Regions from separate parts of the Homo sapiens genome. Here regions 2 and 3 are each linked to region 1. Evidence: promoter capture Hi-C in 16 types of primary human blood cells and fetal thymus (Javierre and others, 2016). All regions are on one chromosome and are shown on one strand. The core of a region is centred on a gene start or on the middle of the fragment in contact, and the rest is flanking DNA. Distances in the headings are between cores, read along the strand shown.

Evidence for each region. Contacts are between HindIII fragments. The CHiCAGO score rates a contact against its expected background, and 5 or more counts as called.
Region 2: a contact is called between the fragment with the promoter of TTK here and the fragment with the promoter of SLC17A5 in region 1, in 4 of 17 cell types (non-activated CD4 T cells, naive CD8 T cells, fetal thymus and 1 more). The highest score is 14.5, in non-activated CD4 T cells.
Region 3: a fragment that was not itself captured here is called in contact with the fragment with the promoter of SLC17A5 in region 1 in 1 of 17 cell types (non-activated CD4 T cells); the score reaches 6.3 in non-activated CD4 T cells.

What each region holds. Positions count from the first base shown.
Region 1 is chr6:73,651,980-73,657,112 of GRCh38, forward strand. SLC17A5 (solute carrier family 17 member 5) reads right to left here and starts at 2,013. Exons shown (of 11, transcript NM_012434.5): 1 at 1,814-2,013. The coding sequence starts at 1,907. RefSeq lists a silencer at 1,459-2,128 and an enhancer at 3,128-3,217. The HindIII fragment of the contact is 4,556 bases long and covers 1-3,168 here.
Region 2 is chr6:80,001,905-80,007,037 of GRCh38, forward strand. It overlaps TTK (TTK protein kinase), which reads left to right and starts at 2,745. Exons shown (of 22, transcript NM_003318.5): 1 at 2,745-2,809; 2 at 3,938-4,078. The coding sequence starts at 3,940. RefSeq lists enhancers at 1,782-2,656, 2,227-2,346. The HindIII fragment of the contact is 2,460 bases long and covers 1,588-4,047 here.
Region 3 is chr6:79,235,739-79,240,871 of GRCh38, forward strand. HMGN3-AS1 (HMGN3 antisense RNA 1) reads left to right here. Exons shown (of 2, transcript NR_040671.1): 2 at 1-1,062. Among named protein-coding and RNA genes, the nearest start is that of HMGN3, 3.6 kb to the left of the region's middle. The HindIII fragment of the contact is 1,879 bases long and covers 1,064-2,942 here.

The sequences.
Region 1 (5,133 bases), core at 763-3,262:
GGCCATGAATTGATAACTTTAATCTGGGTGCTGGTTACATGGGGGCTCATTATATACTTCTCTTAATTGCCATATATGCTCCTTCTCTATAAAACTTATCATATTCTAAATAGCAAAAACAGTATGTTACTATTATTTCCACTTCACTTGCTCTCCAGTGGGTATGTAAAGAGGGAAAATAAAAAAGGAAATGGTTGTAACAAACGTAGCCACCTAAAGCCAGGAAGGACAGGGCCAGTACCATAAGATCCATACACTCAACACATGAATCAAGTAGGGATTGTTTTTAAAAGGGATGCTATAAGCTACTTTTTTAAAAATCAACTTTATTGAAGTATAATTTACGTGATAAATGTATACATTTGTCCATCTCAATCTTTATTGAGATGTATAACTTTTCTATCCACATCTCTGCTAACATTTGGTATTATCAGCCTTTTGGATTTTAGCTATTCTAGTGGGTGTATAGTGCCTCGTTGTAATTTTAATCTGCATTTTCCTGAGAATAATGTTTAACATTTGTGCTAAATTTTGATTATACATATACATATTTTTCAATTGTAACAATGTAATAATCTCTGGCAAATATCTTTATTATAACTTTTATTTCTGTATTTCTATATTATTTTATGAGGAATATTATACAATTTGAACACTACAAGCCACAGAAAATGATCAGTTTATGGAACTAAGTCCGACTTCCAGGTAAAACGTAACTATGGTATGGTATTTACAGTTTGTGTTGACTAAAATAAGCTCCCGGCTGCCAGATGGAGCTATAAGGTTGCCACCTCTACTGCCACCATCTGGTAACATTAAAAACAAATAAAAATATAGAAACTATACAATTCTGGGTTAGCCAAAGTCAAATTTCCAACACAACTCTTTCTCACGCACAGATCTTTGAAACTATAGAATGCATTCAAACTGATTTGTTCTTTAGTTTTCGTTACTTTTAAATAAACTATATTACAAAAGTGTCAAATAGCAAAATATTTTAATTTTCTCAAATTCAGGGAAGATGCTTTATGACGTACCTGCTTTTCGATTTGTTCCAAGACCTTTGGCAAATTACTTTAGAACTCCATAGGTATCTTGAGGATAACTGAACCTTTTCCTAACTTAAATCATAGACTGCCAGACGGAAAAAAAATGTCCTCGATGTTTTTAGTCTCTTACTGCACAATGTCAAGATATCAGCTGGGTTATACAATAGTTGCCCTCTGCATACTCACAAATGTTAACTCCAGTCCTTTTTTGTCTTCCCTCCCCGCCTAAGAAGCTACCAGGTCACATGCTGGCGGATACGCAGTGGCGGAAACCTAGCGGTGACAGGGAAGGACAGCCCTCTGCCTACTGATCTGCAGGTTTCTCCTCCAGTTTGCTCTTACACCGGGGTCCTCCGCTCGGACCTTAGCCCATTCATTTGATGATTCTCTCCCAGTTCGTTCTTCCACTGGGTCCCTTGCTCAGCACTACCCAAAATAACCACCAGCTCAGCGCCGGCTGCACCGCCGCTCCCCCGCCCCCGCCCCCGCCCCCGCCCCCGCCCGGTGGGGCTGCACCTGCCGAGGCCCCGGCTCGGCTCCGCGATCACGGTCGCGGCCCCCGGGGTTCCCGAGGGGCTTCTGCGCACCGAGGCAGGCGGGACTGAGCGGCACTCTGAACGGGCTCCCCTCTTAATGTCCCCTCGCGCCTGAGCAGCTCCGGTCCCGCCGGCGCAGGGTGCGGGTACCCGGGCCATGCCGGCCCAGAGACCGCCGCCCCCGGTACCGCTGCCCACTCGAAGCCCCTGGACGACCCCGCCGCTTACCGGCTTCGGCCCGTGGGGCGCCCGGTAGAAGAGGCGTGCGGTCCGTGCTCTCCTCGCCATCGTTCCGGGCCAGGTCTCGAACCGGAGACCTCATGACGCCTACGTGAGCAGGTGTACTCGCCACCTGGCAGAGAAGGGAGCGCCGGCCCGACAGCCCGAAGCCCCCGGGCCGAGCTGGCTGGACCGGGCGGGGCGGGGGCGATGACACCGCCCCGCGGCCACGTCTAGTCCCCGCGGTCCCGCCCAGAGGCGGCCGCGCCGACTCCGCCCCCGCCGCCATCTTAGGTGTGGGCAACTCTGGCTTGGGTTGGACTAGGGAAGCGGAGTTCTGGGAGTTCTCGTAGGATTGGCGCAAAGTGAGCCCGCTCCGCCCGCCGGTCTACGCATGCCGGGGAGCCGGTGTTCGGACGACCGTCTCCCGCTCCTGCACCCCCTTGTAAAGTGCAGGGGCCACCCTGCCCGCAGCGAGGATGAGTGGGGGCTTGCGGGCGGGCAGTGGGGACTTGAATTGCACATAATTAAGGGGAGGGCTTCGACCGAACTAGGGAAGTGGGTGGTGTGCATTTCACAACTTGACATTCGCTTGTTAGCGGTCAGTTGCCATACTGTTAGCAACCTTTGTACGATCTACCTCGTGACTGTGGCGGCATATTTACCTCGTGACTGTGGCGGCATATTGTCCCTAAAATAGCTTTTTTTTTTTTTTTTTTTTCTCCCAGGCAGGGTCTTGCTCTGTTGCCCAAGCTGGAATGCAGTGGCGCAATCGCAGCTCACTGCAACCTCCAACTCCTGGACTCAAGCGATTCTCTTCAGCTCCCCCAAGTAGCTGGGACTACAGGAGCATGCCACCACATCTGGCTAATTTTGTTTCTACTTTTTATTTTTGTAGAGGCTTGGTCTTATTATATTGCCCAAGCTGGTTTCGAACTCCTGGGCTCAAGCAATCCTCCTCGGCCTCCCAAAGTGCTGGGATTACAGGCGTGAGCCACTGCTCCTGGTCCTAAAATAGCTTTTAGGCGGAAAAACAGCAATGGAAATTTGTTGAGTCCTATGATGTTGCTGGTTTTATAGGTAAAAGTAATCAACATAGGTAGTTTCATATGGTTCGACCTATGGAATCCTCTGATGTATGTGTGCATGCTTTATCTCCACGATAGAATTTGGATAGATTGTGCTAGCATTTGCGGACTCTGAAAGTGAAACTAGGAAAACCCAGCTTGCCTTGGCAGGGCAGATCTGGATCCGCCAATAAAGGCTGTCTCTGTGGAGGTAGAAAATAAGATGTAGATGCTCTCGGAGAGTTTGGTGTAGACAGGGAAGACCCACAAGCCACTAATTCAGTAAACCAGGTTAGAAGCTTAGTGAGGTTCACGTGAGAACAAAGGGGAGGGTCCTTTACCTAGAAGGGAGGGCGAGGATTTCTGTAGGCATCCCTACCTCCAGATCAGTAAATGCTAGAAAAGTTCTCAAGTTAAAGCAGCAAATCAAGCCTTGTTTCTGAGTTACTGAATTACCATGTAGATTTTTACACTCTCTAAGGGTTGTAGAAAAATGCAATTTTCAAACTGGATTATGCAGAGTCACCTGGCAAATCCTTTTAAAATGTAGATTCAGATTCAGCAGATCTGGTGTGATGGTTAATTTTATGTGTTAACTTGCTGGTTGTCTTTGGATGAGGTTAACACTAAAATCATTGAACTCTGGGTAAAGATGGCTGCCTTCCATAATCTGGGTGGGCTTCCTTCAATCAGTTGAAGGCCTATCTAGAATAAAAAATCCGACTCCCCCACTTCTCTTGCCCAAGCAAGGGAGACTTCTCCAGCAGAGTGTCCTCAGACTTCATCTGCACCACAGGTCCTCCTGGGTCTCCAGGCATGTGCACCATCATCTGTTTTGGGTCGAGTTGGCCAGCCTATATTGTGAAAGCCAAAACTTTATTACCCAAACTACCCAATTGGGGCTGTTTCTCTGAGAAGCCCAGTACATCTGGGATGTGCCTGAGATTCTGTATTGCTAACAAGCTCCCAGATGACCAAGGTTATAGATAACTTGGGCCAGGGAATATAGTTGCAACAGACTTGAAAGACTTCAAACCAGAGGAATTCTTTTTTTTAATATTTTTTATTTTAGAAATTTTAGGTTTACATAAACGTTGCAAAGATAGTACAGTGAGTTCTCCATACCCTTTGCTTAGTTTGACCTATTATTAAGATCTTACATTAGTATCATGCATATATCATAACTAACGAGCCAGTATAGATAATTATTAACTGAAGTTCATACTTAATTTGCGTTTCTTTAATTTTTACCTAATATCCTTTTTCGGTCCCAGGATCTCATCCAGGATGCCACATTACATGTCTCCTTAGGCTCCTCTAGATCGACAGTTCCTGACTTTCATTGCTTTTGCTGACCTTGACAGTTTTGTAGAGTACTGGTAGGTTTTGTAGAAAGTGTCTTAATTTGGGTTGTCGAATTTTTTTTTGAGACGAGGTCACGCTCTGTCGTCCAGGCTAGAGTGCAGTGGCACGATCTCGGCTCACTGCAGCCTCCACCTCCCAGGTTCAAGCGATTCTCCTGCCTCAACGTCCCGAGTAGCTGGGACTATAGGTGCATGCCACCACGCCCGGCTAATTTTTTGTATTTTTAGTAGAGATGGGGTTTCACCATGTTAGCCAGGATGGTCTCCATCTCCTGACCTCCTGCCTCAGCCTCCACCTGCCTCAGCCTCCCAAAGTGCTGGGATTACAGGCATGAACCACCACCCCCGGCCTGAATGTTTTTCTTATAATTAGACTGGGGTTATGGATTTTTGAGGGAAAGGTCATAGAGGTAAAGGGCCATTCTCATCATGTAATGTCAAGGGAATGTGCTGTCAACTTATTTATCACTGATGTTTATCAGTAGTGATGGTAAGCCTCATTGCATGCCTGAGGTTGTGTTTGTCAGGTGTTTTCACTGTGAAGTTAACTCTTTTCCCCCGGCCTTACTTTTCTCTTTGGAAGGAAATCAGTATGTGCAGCCTTCACTTAAGGGGTGGGGAGTTATCTATACTCCACCAGTTTCAGGGGAAGAATTCTTTTGTTTGGGAGATTTGTTTATTCTCCTACATTTATTTACTTATTCAATCATTTATTTTTATTAGTATGATGTCATGGTTATTATTTTATACTTTGGGTTATACTCCCAACACTATGTTATTTATTTTGTTGCTCAAATTGTTCCAGCTTTGGTGACTAAGAGCTCTTTCAGTTGGCTCTTGTGTCTTGCATGCCTCCATTGTTGTGTTTTTTGAGCATTCCCTTACTTTCTGGTACAAC
Region 2 (5,133 bases), core at 1,495-3,994, 6.4 Mb after region 1:
TTCTAGTGGGGGTAAAGTTTGGAGAGTCAGAAAATAAACAAGATAAATAAATAGGTCAAATAGGTAAAACTGTAGGATTTTACAGATCACCGCTGTCCAGTGGAAACACAATGTAAGCTATATATGTAATTTTCAATTTCCTACTAGCCATATTAAAGTATAAAAAGAAACAGGTGAAATTAAATTTTCATAAACTTTTTATTTTTGAATAATTTTTAATTTACAAAAAAATTCCAAGTGTATTAAATAGTACAGTGAATTGCTGTATACTGTTCATTGTTTTTCTGTTAAGATCTCGCATTACTGTGATGCATTTTTCAAAACCAAGAAACCAACATTAGTGCATTTTCATTAACTAAACCTCAGACTTTATTTGAATTTTACTAATTTTTCAATTAATGTCATCCTCCTGTTTCAGGATCCAGTTTATGATATCACAGTGCATTTAGTTGTCATGTCTTCTTAGTCTCCTCTGTGATGGGGTGGTATTAATTTTAATAATATATTTTATTTAACTCAATATAGCAAAAATATCATTTTAACCTGTAATTGATATTTTTAAAATTATCAATGTTTATTACTTTTTCTTATTCAGTCTTCAAAATCCAGAGTGTATTTTATACTTAACAGTACATCACATTTCATACTCAGACACTTTCACTGGAAATACTTCATCTGCATTTGGTTCTCACAAAATTTACAGTTGAAAAAGTAGGTTCATATACTTACATTGTTCCAAGTATACTTAAAAGTCTTCCAATAAATTCATGACTAATGCAAGTTTAGAAAAAAGAAAGCAAAAAAAATTACTTTAAATAGTTTAAAAATAATCCCATTAGATATCAGTTTTCAAATTTAAATATAAATTTAATTAATCAATTAAGGTTAATTGATTTAAAAATTCAGTTCCCAGTTGCACTAGACATACTCAAGTGCTCAATAGTCACAGACCATCACAAGGACTTTTGATTTTATTCCGAGCTAGAAAGGGAGCACTGAAGGGTTTTGAGCAAAGTAGTGACATAATCTGATTTAAGATGACTTTGCTATGTCAGAGAATAAATTGAGGTGAGGCAAGGGCAGAAGCAGGGAGACCAGCCAGGAGGCTACTGCAGGTAACATCAGTTAAGTGATGCAGATGCCTTGGACTGAAGTGGTGGCAGTGGAGGTGGGGAGAACTGGTAGGAGTCCAGGAATCTCTTGTGCCAGCCCTGACTCAATCTGCTTATGAGTTAGATAAGGGATCAGGGATGACACAAAGGTTTTGGGGCTAAAAAATTTAAGACAATGAATTTGTCTTTTATAGATTTTGTAAAAAAAACAGGTTTGGGTAGGAAGATCAGGGGCTTGGTTTTGGACATTTTGAGTTCAAGATGCGTATGAGACATGTAAGTGAAGATGTTAATAAGTAGGCAGTGGATATCTGAGTATGGAGTTGAGGAGAGCTCAGCTAATGATACACATTTGGGAGCCATCAACATATAGATGGTATTTAAAAATAGAAGACTGAAGGAGACCACCAAACGAGAGTACAGAAAGAAGTGTTAGGGTGAGGTCATCCAGCAACAGTATTTTAAGGAAAATGCAAGCTTTGTGATCAGGCCGCAAACAGATCAACGAGAATTGGAGGAATAATAAACTCTTTCCAGGCAGAAGCATTAGATGCAATGGTGCAAAGGTAAGTGATTAGCCAACCATGGTATAGCAAGTCATTTTGCTCTGCTGAAGCAGAAATACTAGCTAGCTGACACAGAAAGATGCATTAAGTGATTGAGAAGGGCTCTCACGCTAGCTGGGTGGCTATCCAGAGCTGGGAATGTGAGGGTTCTAAGGATAGCTTTGGAGTTAACAAGTGACAGCTGCAGTTAGTTTCCTATACATACACAAAACCAACCCGTCCTACCACAGAATATATGTCATAATGCTGGCACAACAGACACATCCCTTTTAGTTTTGCAGACGAGGAGTAACCGTTGCCCTGGACCACAAAGCCACTTAGCGGCAGAGCCTCGCACCCGCGAAGATTATTACTAGGGAGATGTTTTTACCCCTGAGGACACCTGAGCCCTTAAGTGGGGCAGGCTTCGAGGGAGGGGGGCCGATAAGGCGACTTCAGACAGGGCAATCACGATGGGCGCTTGAGTTCTGCGCAGAATTTTGACAAGGGGGAGGGTCTTGGCTTGAAGACAGAGCGTGGAGTCATTTAAGGATAATGGAAGGGCATAAGCAGAAGCTCAAGGATAAAAAGCACTGAAATTCTTGAGCTGGCGGCAGGGCTGAACGTAGCTCAGTGAAAGATCCTTTCTTGCCACATCCTCTCTAAGCCAGGCTGTGAGAACCGCGGGAAACGAAGGAGAAGGGTGGCGGTGGGGTCAGTAAAGGGCCGGCCCAAGGTGCATCTTTTAGGTCCTGATGCTAGGAGCAGCCGTCCCTGCCCCTATATTCCTCTCACTGGGTAGGTTTGCTCGGGAGTGGCTACCTCCCAGGCAAAAATTCGGCCTGGTTAAACTGGAAAGACCAGGAAAGCCCGCCCACGGGCGTCCGGGGAACGCCTGCAAAGTGCCAGCACCCTACCAACCCAGGCGCCGCACGGGTGGGGTCGCGGCCGCAGGCTCTTCCGGGGCGGGCCTAGCCTGACGCAGGAGGAGGGGCGGCCCCCGTCGCACAAGAACCAATCACGACTGTCGCTTCTACGTGGCTAGCATTGACCAATAGGAGACCGTAGTGATAGCGACGGGGAAATTCAAACGTGTTTGCGGAAAGGAGTTTGGGTTCCATCTTTTCATTTCCCCAGCGCAGCTTTCTGTAGGTAAGTTCTGTCTTACCGGTGCACCGGCGCACTGAGGAACAGCCGCAGCCGGTGTAGGGGCTCATTGTTAGCGCTGGTCGGTGAGGGGTGGGGCGAGGTGGGGGCAGCTCGGAGCCAGGTATGCGACGCGGCTAAACGAGCTGGAGGGGGAGGGGATGTCTCACTGCCTCAGCGGGTCTGGCCGGTGGGGTGATGCAGGAGGTTTTGTTGAGGAAGTAAGAAGTGGGTGTGGCCCACGCTGGAAAGAAGGGGTGGTGGGGTACCTGCGCACAAGATCGTTTTCCAAAGGACAGTCTCTCTTGTTTTGGGGGTTAGAACTGGGAAAGAAGCGGGTGGCCGTGATCTGACAGTTATCTTTCAAACCTGACTTAAGAGGTGGAGTGATACCTTGCTGCAACTTTATGACTTTTTTTCATTGTTAAACCTGAAGACGGGGCAGCATTGTTATCAGTGACACTGAGTTGGTGTTTGAGAGTCACAAAGATACGATTAACAATAAGACTGCAGACACTTTATTGAACAAACACCACCACCATGCAGATAAGCAAGTGCTCAGTACCAGTACAATAGTTTCTTAGTGTTAGATTAAGGTAGCAAATCGTGATTCTGCTAGATATGCACAAGAATAAATCTGCGGATTTCCTAATTATCAGTAAAGCCCCATCATGTTTATATTCTGCTTTGAAAGCACTTGCACTGGAAGATTTACTCAAGTAAAGCAGGCGAATAAAGGAATTGTTATTCCCATTGCCAAACGAATTCTTTATGTCTATGTCACTACCAGAATCCAAGCAATCTTTATGTGTATGTCGCTACCAAAATCCAAGCAAACACTCTATCATATTTTTTTTAAGTGACACTAAATTTGCAGATTTCTACAGTGTGACGTCATTGATGTTATATTGGGGGAAAAAGTATACTTGGCCTATGAAACCTTGGTGAATAAATTACAAAGATGTGTACCTTGTTGTTGTGCACTTACCTCCATTAATACTAGCCTAATAATAGCTGCATTTAGATGTGTTCACAAAACGAATGCTTTAGTCGTCTGGGTTCTAAAAAGCTAGTGCATTTTTTTCTTTGATGCTAGTTAAAGTAGGAGTTATGACTGTTCAGTTTTTTTCTTAGAAATGGAATCCGAGGATTTAAGTGGCAGAGAATTGACAATTGATTCCATAATGAACAAAGTGAGAGACATTAAAAATAAGTTTAAAAATGAAGACCTTACTGATGAACTAAGCTTGAATAAAATTTCTGCTGATACTACAGGTGAGTTTTTCTTTTCTTTTAAGTTAGTAACTGTTTGTTGGGTATCCTCTAAGGTAAAGATATAGTACTAATCACTTTATTTATAATTTACTCATGTGTTTATTGTCTTTCTCCTCCATTAGAATGCAGGCTACATGATGGCAGGGTTTTTGTCTGTTATATCCACAGAACTTTGAATGGTGTCTGGCACATGGTAGGTAGGCACTTAAACATTTATTGAACAATGATTAATGGGTGAAAATGCCCAGAGTTTAATACTCTAGCTCTTCTAAAAGTATTAGCTCAGAAGCCTGATTCTTTACTGTATTTCAAATGGTTGGTCATTTGAATGGTGACCTTTGGATAATTTTCTTACATCTATACTAACCTTTAAATAGATGAGGAATTGAAAATAAATGGAAGAACCTGTGATCTAATCATGGTGGCTGACTGTTCACTTTGAAAAAACCTAGAAAATGATAGTTTTAGTGTTAAGCAAAATCTTAATGGAGTATAATTGTGCTTAATTATGTCACTAACAAAGGTTGTACATCAAGGCAATTGAGTATTTTAAGTACTGAGGAAGATTCAAAGATGCTTAAAACCATAGTTTCTTTCTAGATGAGAATTTATATATTCACTATGCTACATTGTAATGCATGCTGGGCATCATAGGAATACTAGCATGATAAAACACAAATGTTTTATTTGTTGATTAGAGGAAGAATAGGGTACTCAGGCATGAGGAATGCATCTGCAAAGCCACAGATGGCAATGTGTGTTTTTTAGACATTTCACAGACTAATTTCTTAGGAAAGCAATAGGAGGTAAAAATAGAAAATTAAGGTCAGACCAAATTAAATTTAAAACGACAAAGCAAAGTTATGCATGCACTATATTTTAGTAGAAAGTAGAAACAAATTTTATTTATAAAAGTAAAGATGTAGGCTTTGTTGAAAGTGACTGAAGTTAATAGAAGGAATAATAGCTTCTCTGGAAATCTGAATTTAATATTGCTTAGTAATAACCAAAATATCCTGAACAGAAGACTGACATTCAAGTTATCTTTTTAAAAA
Region 3 (5,133 bases), core at 753-3,252, 5.6 Mb after region 1:
AGTGAATGGGTAAGCAAATTGTGATGAGCACATGCAGTGGAATACTATTCAGCAATAAAAAACAATAAAAAATTTTCCTACATGGATGAATATCAAAAACAAAGTGCTGTACGAAAGAAGTCAAATACAAAAGACCACACTGAATGATTGCATTCATATGAAATTATAGAAAAAGCAAAATTGGGCAAAGTTAGTTTCAGAATCATCTTAGCAGGCAAAGCTCACATCATAGGAAAATGTGTTGAAGCCTTACATTACAAATATGGCCAAATCCACTTTGGTAACACAGAGGCTGCAAATATGTATTAAAAATATCATGTATTAAATATGTATTAAAAAAGCAATGAAGTTTAATATTTCACTTTTTCTTTAGTAATTTTCAGAATACATTAATTGATCTAGTACTCTCCAGAGGTGGTTGATTACTTTCTTTTTTGGAACATCTTTATGAACTCATGGATTTTTACATATTTGGTGTGCATCAGTGTATTGCTATCATTATTATTACCTTTTTAATGCTCCTATTACCACATCTTTAGCCAATGCATACCCTTTCAAATTAGTGCTTGTGTCCTTTTGACATGATCTTAATCATTTTTGATAGATTCCCTGTTCTTGGGCATTCAGTGAATGACAATAGTATACTGAAACGAATTAAGATAAAAACCAATTGCTTAGAGCTAGATAAAAATTTACAAGTTAATAATTTTATCATTAAAATAATATTTATAATGAAGATGTCTTTCAAGATATTAATTTGCCAAATACTTGATAGTTAAATAAAGAAAAAGTCAGTGAAAACATTTTTAGTAAGATATGTGTGAGAAGGATACTGAGTAGCACTTGCAATCTGGACTGGATGGCTATTTTTCTTCATGGAGATGGAAAGGTGCCACAACAAAGGTAGTGCTAAGGTGAATATTTCTCCTCTGTGATGAAAAATAACTCACAAAATTGGCTTCTTTGTTAATTTTTTTTCAAAACCAAACACTCAGATCATCAACAGCAAACAAAATTGTGAATGTTTTTACTGCACACAATAAAAATGCTACGATGAAATTGAAGCTTGCTTGTTGGATGAAGAAAGCTGATTGTGAGGACCTCGAGTTCTTGGAATCTTTAGTTCATTTACAAGTTATGAAAATAACAGCTTCGGTTGAAAAACAACAGCATTGCTTATCTTTCCTTTGATGTAGATTGCACCTGGCTGAGCACTACTCTAGGAAATGAAGTGTTCTCCCTTGTACCTTTAGTAGCCTTCAAGATCTGGGAAAGTCAGTGCAAACCTCTACTGGTGGCCCTGGAGGTAAGAAGAGTAGGCAAAGAGAATGATTTAGCAGGTAGCTAGAATTCTAGGTTAAGAGATAAAGACATCTGGGCAGAAATGAGGGTGTCACATAGAAGACAGTGAGGAGGTCAAGCTGGTAAGAAGTACAGACTCATTTGTTTATCAATATATTCCACTGAGCATTTCTACTACTTTGGAATATCAGCCTCTAAGACAGTAAAAGTAGGATGTATATACTATCTTAGCTAAGGTAGACCTGGATAAATTAACAGAGTTACTGACTGAGACAGAAAGAAAAAAAATAGTGAACAAACTTGTTTTCCAATTCCAGCTCCTCTCCTCTTTTGTCCTACTCAAAACTGTTGGAACTGTACACCTACTTCACATTTTTCAATCAGCAGGGCAAAACCATTTATAGTGTCATGACTATCATTAAGGAAAAGAAAGAGACAGAGACATTGACAGACACACACACGCAAACACACACACAGAGAGAGAGAGAGAGAGAGGGAGAAGGGAGAAGGGAAGGCTAAGAAAAGCAAAGAAAGGGCCAAGCATAGAAAATAGCAGAGTATATATGGTAAAGGTAAGTAATGTTTCATAAGATAATTGTTTCTATTTTCCATATGTGCTCATATAAACACATACACAACACAGATATGTATGTGTGTATGTTGGATTGTGACATGAAATATATTTTTAGTATGGTCTTGGTCAAAAAAATTGAATGCCACTGCTAATGAATGTTGTGGATCTTTGACATTCCGAAAAAAAAATGCTTAATATTAAAATTTTTTTTTTAGAGGTAAGATCTCATTCTGTTGCCCAGGCTGGCATGCAGTGGCACAATCATAGCTCACTGCACGTCAGACTGCTGGGCTGAAGAGATCCTCCTGCCTCAGCCTCCTGAGTAGTTATATAGGTGCAAGCCACCACACCAGGCTTGAGAGGAAGTTTTCAAGGGAAAGAATGACTTGCAGATCACCTCCTTCTTGAACTGTCCCTCTTTTCCTCTTTCAGGCAGACACAGGCAGGGTCCCTTAGGCTTTTGCTGTAAGTAATGACAAATTACTGGAGAAGTCAGATCCAGAATGTACATATTGTTGCTTTTGATAGTTGCAACTGTACACCTACTTTGCATTTTTCAGACAGCAGGGCAAAACAAATGATAGTCATGACTATCATTAAGGCAAAGAAAGAGACAGAGACATTGGCAGACAGACACACACACACACACACACACACACAGAGAGAGAGAGAGAGAGAGACAGACAGAGGGAGAAAGGAAGAAAGGGGAAAAGTGAAAATGATACTGTGTTGCTTCTGATAGTTTGTAATTCCAGATTAAGTTACTAATCTTCCATAAATAGGTCAAAAAATACACAGTGAAGAATTCAGGTGTGTAACAAAACAACATCAAAAACAACAAATAAGAGGTGGCAAAAGAATATTTTGTTTGTATTTTCCAGTCAAGTCTCTACTTTGATTGGGTGCTAACTTTTGAAGAGACCAAGGTTAGTTTTTACAAAGCAACAATAAGAGTCCAAGAACTAACGGTCCCAAATCAAATGAGCTGCCTGATATTAGTGCAGATCCCTAGGCCCCAGTCCCAAGGTATTGAATGGCTAGGCTTGGAAATCTGCATTTTCAAACAAGCTTTTCATGTGTTGCTTACACTATAATTCGGGGACTAGAGTATTTAATAGACTAGGCCCTTGCTCTCAACAAATATTTGCTGAATGCCGGTACTTGGATTCTGATGACAGGTATCTATAAAAGCCTGTGGAGTTCTCAACATACTTCCAGAGCAGGAGCGTAATTCTGTGGGTGAAACTCGCCCCACAGTCCTCACCTCATGCTTTTGCTCCATCTCAGTTTTGCTGGGCACAACCTGTTTATTTCACTTTCTTTCTCTTCTGTAGTTGCAAGGAACCTGAAGAGTGATTAAAAACTGCACACATCCAGATACCTAGAAAAGTGTCTTCTTCTTCCCAGGCAGCCCCTCTAGGCAGCTCCTTGGGCCCCTGGGAGATGAAAATCCCTGATCCCAAATCCTCAAAGGGAACTTACCTTGGCCAAAGCCCATAAGCCACACCCTTTCAAGGCTAAATGTCAATGATTGCATAAGCATACTTCACAACTGCATTAACAGCAAGAGGAACCAGGGCATTCTGTGACCTTCCAAGGAACCCACTCTTTGTTTTCCCAACCTTCAATCAAATTTAATATTTGTGCAGATTCTTTACCCCAGGTATGTTTTACACAGTTTTTCCACCCCTGGTACTTTTCAGGTTCAATCTCTGTGATATTTACCTCTCCTTCTTGCTCCTGCTGCTTAAACTCACAGGAGTGTGATTAATTTGCTCTTTTTAGCACCCAAATGACTATTTGGGAATGAATTAGATATGCTCAGTAGCTAGAACCAGGGATTGGGATACATTGGTTTAGCCATTCCTTTTTGTCAGATTGTTAGCATGGCTGGTGCCAAGAGCCATCCAGGCTCAAGGAGGTGAGAAAGTTAAGGGAAGGAAATCCCCAAAGTTCATGGTGAGGACACAGCAAAATAAGGACTCCATCCCATCCCCTTAGGTAAAAAGCCACAAGCTGCAAGGTGCCAAAGACCAATTAGTAGTTGTTGCAGAGCTCTCCGACTGAATTGCACATTCTTGTAAACTACTGTCAGTGCCAGTACACTCTCAAATGGGACCACACCCTTTTCTTTAAGCTAGTGATTTTGACTACCTATTTTTGGTGTCTTCTGCATTTCCTTCAAATCTCAGAATCCCTGGGAGCTTGTAAGGAACATTTAGTAACCCCATCCCCGTCGCTACCCTCAATGGTCCTGCCTTTCGGAGATATCATACCATTTTCCTTTTCTCAATGAAAGCAAGAAAATGCTGGTTTGGGGAAATGAGAGTCGAATGAATCATTCTGAAAAATACCATAAAGCAACTGGAGATGATTTTCAGGTTAGCTTGGTTAATAACTCTTGTAATTCTCAAGCACTAAGAAAGAGTTAGCCGATAAAATGAGTTTGGCCAGGTCAGAATGAATTCTAGCCACCAGGTCAGAATGAATTCTAGCCACAAGGCAATAAAGTTTTGCCCAGCAGTGGAAAACTAGCCTGCAAATGTGCCATAATCTTCAAGGCTGCTTATCTGCATAAGGCTTTTGTTGTTTTTAAAACACAGAATTGTGCTACTCCCACAAAAAAACTCTCATCCTTTTCTACCTTCTCATTCCCACTCCCACTTCTGCTGTCTGTAATCTTAAGCAAATGGGTTGTTTTTTTCTTTTTTTTTCTCCTAAATAATCCAATTTACCTCTTAACATGTCAAAAAAATTGTTTTAACCATTTTAAAAATAAATGTTTATCAAAAAGTTTGGAATTTGCAGTCATAGGCATGAATTCAAATCTCAAGCTATTGAGCTACCATCACATTACTTAACCTCTTTGAACCCTGGTTTCCTTATTATAAAATGAGAAAAAGAATGTCTATTCAAGGCAGATACCACTAGTTACCTGCCCAATATTCACACTAGCTTTCTTCCTACTAACAGAATTCTGATTTTGGCAATAGGCCTGGTCAAAACAAAACAAAACATAACAAAGCAATCTTTAGTTCCTCCAGCTCCCTGGCAGATAGAGGTTGCTATGTGACACCTCTGGGGCTAATGAAATACATGAACACACAGTCATAAGGTGATTGTGTAAGCAACACCAAATAACAGGACAAACCTAGCCGGGTAGCTAGCTGCCTTGTGCCTTTGTTCTTCCTCTCCTTCCATCCTGGAAGTTGCTAACAATGTCTGGAAGTAGAACAGCCATCTATGTCCAAAGAGAG